Regions from separate parts of the Homo sapiens genome. Here region 1 is linked to region 2. The links are contacts of gene promoters, found by promoter capture Hi-C in human tissues and cell types (Jung and others, 2019). All regions are on one chromosome and are shown on one strand. The core of a region is centred on a gene start or on the middle of the fragment in contact, and the rest is flanking DNA. Distances in the headings are between cores, read along the strand shown. Region 1 overlaps SORT1 (sortilin 1). Region 2 holds the start of STRIP1 (striatin interacting protein 1).

Evidence for each region. Contacts are between HindIII fragments. The study calls those that stand out against the background at their distance.
Region 1: a contact is called between a fragment that was not itself captured here and the fragment with the promoter of STRIP1 in region 2, in 1 of the 25 tissues and cell types used here (pancreas).

The regions. Positions count from the first base shown.
Region 1 is chr1:109,384,057-109,387,024 of GRCh38, forward strand. All of the region lies in intron 1 of SORT1 (sortilin 1), which reads right to left. Among named protein-coding and RNA genes, the nearest start is that of SORT1, 12 kb to the right of the region's middle. The HindIII fragment of the contact is 4,275 bases long and covers 1-2,968 here.
Region 2 is chr1:110,033,067-110,035,964 of GRCh38, forward strand. STRIP1 (striatin interacting protein 1) reads left to right here and starts at 1,558. Exons shown (of 21, transcript NM_033088.4): 1 at 1,558-1,751. The coding sequence starts at 1,572. It overlaps LOC105378895 (a long non-coding RNA gene), which reads right to left and starts at 2,373. Exons shown (of 3, transcript XR_947693.3): 1 at 2,343-2,373; 2 at 283-365. RefSeq lists an enhancer at 1,233-1,622 and silencers at 1,623-1,842, 2,083-2,152. The HindIII fragment of the contact is 12,037 bases long and covers 1-2,898 here.

The DNA.
Region 1 (2,968 bases), core at 369-2,868, 650 kb before region 2:
AATTTAGCCACTCAGTTTGCTTTTCAACTGCTATGTATCTGGGTTTTTGTTGTTTTCGAGATCAGCTCCCTGCTCCACAATAAGCCAGTGTTCAAAGGAGAGGGGCAACAGCAACCTCCATGATTCAGATGCCTCAGCAACCCGGATACTCACCGAAAAGAAGCAAGGAGACCTCTGATGTCACTATCATGCATTAAAAATCTGTGCATTTGACTTCTAAGAGAAATTTGCAGACCATCACTCTAATTCAATTTATTAAACCGGTTAGAATTGTCTAATATTAGAAATCTGCTTTCTCAGCATAGAGAGGAAGCAAATCAAATTTGAGGGTGATATATGTAGAGACAGACAGGGACAACAGCAAGAGGAAGAGGATATTACAAGAGGAATTACAAAGGGAATATCATTTCTGCAGCAAAGAAGCAAACAGGCAGACAATGGCATTAAGTTTATAATCCAGGACATCTGAAATGGGAGAAGATAGCCCCACATATCTCAATAGCTCCTGTGGGTATTAAATGTCATACCACATTAAAATACTGTGAGTCATTGTCTTAGTCCATTTTCAGTTGCTATAAGAGAATATCCAAGACAGGGCAATTTATAAAGAAAAGACGTTTATGTAGCTCACAGTTCTGGAGGCTGTGAAGTCCAAGAGTATGGCATAGGCATCTGCAGAGGATCATCCCATGGCAGAAAGTGGAAGCAAGCACAGGAGACACAGAAAAGAAATAGGACCAGGCCAGGCATGGTAGCTCACGCCTGTAATTGCAGCACTTGGGAGGCCAAGGCAGGTGGATCACTTGAGGTCAGGAGTTTGAAACCAGCCTGGGCAACATGGTGAAACCCCATCTCTACTAAAAATGCAAAAATTAGCCAGGTGTGGTGGCGTACACCTGTAATCCCAGCTACTTGGGAGGCAGAGGCACGAGAATCCCTTGAACCTGGGAGGCGGAGGTTGCAGTGAGCTGAGATCACAACACTGCACTCCAGCCTGGACAATAGAGTGAGACTCTGTCTCAACAACAACAACAACAACAAAAAGAAAAGAAATAGGACCAAACTCTCTCCCTATTATAATTAACCCACTCCTGGGATAAAGGCCTTAATCCATTCATGAGTTGGTGCCCTCATGATATAATACCTCTTAAAGACCCACCACTTAATACTGTTACATTGACGATTAAGTTCCTAAAACATGAATTTGGGGAGGCACATTCAAACCACAGCAGTCCTGGTATAGCATAATTTATTCTCTTCTTAGTGACCTAGGCTCATACTGTTGACCAAGAAGGCAGAGAAGTATATTAGAAAGATTTCCATTAAAAAAGCAAGCAAACAAAAAACCTTTGGCACTTATAAAAGGGTAGGCTTAGTTTTTGAAAGTCACTTCCATGAAACAATTCATTTCTCAATAAATAGCTACATTTCATAATTTTTGCATTTAATTGTTATATCTTAGTTCATTTTAAAGAAAAGAAAGTGACAGAGAGATATGCTCCAGTTGCCAGCTGACTGAGCCGAGAGAACCATAAAGGCTTGCTGCTTCTCCCTTGGGTGTGGGCGCTAACCCCTTCCCCCATTCCCTCTGCTACAACCACACTGGCCTTCTTCCAGATCCTGGAGTATGCCAAGCTCTTTCTAGACCCAGGCCTTATGAACATGTTGTTCTCTCTGCCTGAGATACTCTTCCTGGCAAAATTCTATTCAAGTATCAGTTTAAATAATTTCTCAGTGAATCTTTCCTAATGCCCCAGACTAAAAAAGACCTGTCAATTATTCCTGTGGTTACTATTTTTCTTCTTGGTAATTACTACATTTATAATTATATATCATTTAGTGCCATTTTCTCTATTGGTCCATAAAGTTCCATCAAGGCAGAGGTCTGGTGTTCTACACCAGTTCCCAGGACCTGATAAGTGCCTCATGTGTATAGGTGCTCGACAAACAACTGCTGAATTAAAGAAAAACAATAATATTTAACCTTTACTAAGCACTTATTATATTAGTATTATATATTAAGGTACTCACTGTTAATTTATAAAGAAAGCAGCAGGCTCAGAGGCGTTAAGTAATTTGCTCAAAGTCAAAAAGTTGGTAAGTGGCAGAGCAAGGTTTCAATCTCATGTCTGTCTGACTCCAGACTACACATTTCATGACTACTCTTTCTTCAGCATTGTGGGAGGCAAAAGTGATGAAGGACTCATAGTACAAGCTGGGCCCTACCTTTAAGGAGTTTATCATTTAGGGAGTAAAACTTCTATAAATGAAACTGAACACAAGACAGAAGTGTTGTATTACATGGCACAGTCCAAAATTATAGAAGAGAACAGGAAAAACTAACAAGGGCTAGAAGGGCATTCAGACAGGAAGAAACCCATGAAAACAAAGATGGAGAAGCAACAGACCATATGGGGAGCTGAAGGGACTGGTTAGAAGATCACTTTAACTGGAACAGAGGGTTAATATAGGCCAGGAAGTGGTGAAATAGTAGGTTAAATAAATATGCACATAGGCCAGGTGTGGTGGCTCACACCTATACTCCTAGCACTTTGGGAGGCCCAGGCGGAAGGATCACTTGAGCCCAGGAATCCCAGACCAGCCTAGGCAGCATAGTAAGACCTCATCTCTATTTTTAAATAATTGTTAAAAGTTTAAAAAAGCAATATGCACATAATAAAAAATAATTCCATCAACATTCTGGTCCGCTATTCTTTCAAGCAAAGTTCCTAAGAAGTACCTATCACATTTCACTAATATTTCTTGAAACTTCACAGAGATCAGTAGAGTGCAAAGCTAACAGCAGCTGCTCAGTTAAAGAAAGGGGTGAAATATGCAAGGTGCTATTTCAGAGCTATCAACTTAAACCAGAGCCATTAACTCTTAACAAATTAAAGCTTAATGAAGGGGAAGAAAAATTGTTATTAAATTATAGTCTTTAAAAAATAATTTGGTCAGGTGCAGTGGC
Region 2 (2,898 bases), core at 308-2,807:
GCTTTTGCATTTAGCTGTTTCATCTGTCTGTGTGCCCTTCCTGGAACTTTGCAGGGCTTCTCCTCACTTCTTTCAGAACTCATCTAAAATCACACCCTCAGGCCTGCCTTCCTTGGGCAGCATGCTTATATTATAGCCACATTCTCCGCCTCCACCAACCCCTGCCCCCCGCCCCACTGCCACCTTTTAACCTCTCAATTTTTGTTACTTCTGACAAAGATTCTCTTCTTTGGCCAAAACTCTAGTCAGGCTCCTGTGAGTCCTCTGCCTACTAGGACTAACCGTTTGGGCTTCCTTTCTGTCCTTGTTGAATCCAGTTTGTGCAGGGACTCTCCACTCTTGGCGTCTTAATCCATTTTTTGTTGCTATAACAGAATACAAAACACTGGGTAATTCATAAAGGAAAGAAAGTTATTTTTTGCAGTTCTGGAGTCTGGGGAGCCCAAAGTCGAGGGGTTGCATTTGGTGAGGGCTTTCTTAAACTGCATGGTAGAGAGCCTCTCACGGTGAGAAAGCAAGAGCATGTGTGCCAGCTCAGATCACTCTTCCTCTTCTTATAAAGCCACCAGTCCCATCACAGGGGCCCTACCCTGACGATTTTATCTAATCCTAATCACCCCCTCAAGGCTCCACCTCCAAATACCATCAACATATGAACTTTAGGATTGAGTTTCCAACGTATGGAATTTGGGGGACACAGTCAAACCATAGCACTCGGTATCTGACCACCCTCAACATCTTAGCACCCTGTCCTGCTTTCAGCAATAATCCTGTTAGGTCAGTTTAGCAAGAAACTTCTTATCCTTGATGTTTCTCTTAGTAGTTTTCCGTCCACTGACCCTCATCCTGCTCTTTGGTTATAAATCCCCACTATATCTTGTTGGAGTCAGAGTTGAGTCTAATTCCTCTTCTTCACTGCAAGATCTGGTTGTAGTGGTCCCTGTAACTATCACCATGGGCTCTCTTACATAAAGTCTGCCTTACCATCTTTAATTAGTGCCATGAACAAATTTTCCTTTAACACTTTTCAGCATTTATTTCTCTATATTTGTCTATTGTTTGTCTGACCCACCAAGCACTGTTATGTACCGTGACTGCAGACACTTGTTCCTCATTTTATCCCACTGCTTGGTGCACAGGAGACATTTATTAAATGTTTGTTGAATGAATGAATGACAAGCACTTGTCACAACGGTAACTCTGTGAAGACTAGGATCCTATCCATTTTGTTCATTACAAAATTCCGCCTAAGCCTTGAACAAGGCTATGAGTTATAAGTGCAAAGCGATTTAGAGGAAGGAGGGGTAACTAAACTGACTGAAGAAGCTAAGGGAAGCCTCACAGATAAAATTACATCTAAACTGAAACTGAAAGGAAGGTGGAAAACTAAAAAGATCAACAAGGGAAGGACTGCAGACAGAATATCGCGAGGTATTGGTCAGCCAAGATGGCTTCTAACACTGGCCGCCACACTTAATATGGCGGCCAGGGAAATTTCCTGGAGAAAATCACGCGAGAGTTGCATCACGGCGGCTGTGCGCGAGTTAAGCTGGGGGTGTGGAGCAGCCAAGATGGAGCCGGCAGTCGGCGGTCCGGGCCCACTGATCGTGAACAACAAACAGCCCCAGCCCCCGCCACCTCCGCCGCCGGCAGCCGCACAGCCACCACCCGGGGCACCGCGGGCCGCCGCGGGCCTCCTGCCTGGGGGCAAAGCCCGCGAGTTCAACCGCAACCAGCGCAAAGACTCAGAGGTCAGGAGCTTCGGGGGGCGAGGCTCGCACCGGGTCGGGCGGCGCCGGGGGTCCCGGGCCCGGGGCCACTCTAGGGGCCAGGTTGGGCTTCCCGGAGGGCTCGGTAGAGTCCGGCCGAGAACTGTCACTATACAGCGAAAGGAGCAGGAAGCGAGGCTGGCAGCTCCTGGGGTCTGGAGCATGAGTCCTTGCTCTAGCTCCGCCGCCCGGGAGAGCTTCCCGTGGCCGGCGACTGCTGGTTTGCTCCCCTGGGCCCCGACTGTGGGCGTGGCCTCGAGGCCCTAGCCCCTGGGGAAGCCGCTCTCGCCCCAGCTCGGGGGTGAGGAGTCGGGGGTCTTGGTGCACTCCAGGGCGCTGGGCTGCCGCGCCCCCAACCTAATCATCTCGGGCGTCTGTCCCTGGCACGCGGGCTCCAGCTCCTGGGTCCTGCCGCTCGCAGAGGAAGGCGCGTGTGGGCAGGGAAGGCGCCGGCGAGGATCTGGAAGGAACTTAGAGCCGGACCGAGCTAATTATCATTGAGAGTAGAGTAGGAGGGGGAAACATGTCCTGTTCTTCTGACCTGAGCCAGATCAGGCCATGGGTTAACAGTACCTGTGGTGGGCTATTGTGCCCAGTGCGCCTGATACTGAACTGTTAAAGATGAGAAATAGACATTTTAAGCATGCGTTAGGACCCAACATTCCTTCCTGTCTCGCTAGTGAGCCGTTCCTGCCGTTCTGGAGATGGCATAGTCTGGAACTGACTAGTAACCTCACCCCAAGTTAAGGAATTCCTCCCACTGCCTCCTTTTGCAGAATTCATGAATGAAGATACTCATGTCGCGGAGTTTTAGGGCTTCTTAATGAGCAGGTTCCCAGAGCACTTACTATGCCATCTCCTAGATTGATCAGCAGCCAAACTGATCAGCCAAGTTAATGAGAGGGAATTCCTAGTTGTCCAAGCATAATGTACCAATTCATACCAAAGAGCAATGATACTACCTTTAGACCTGTGGAATCAGTTCCTCAGAAGCTTTTATTTTTTGTTAGCAAGGCTAAACCCCTGAGAAAACATGTCAACAATTGGCAAGCCCGAAGTAGACGTAATTTGAGCTTGGAGTGAATTATTTGAAAAAAACAAAAACACTGACCATTTAGGAGCCCTGGCA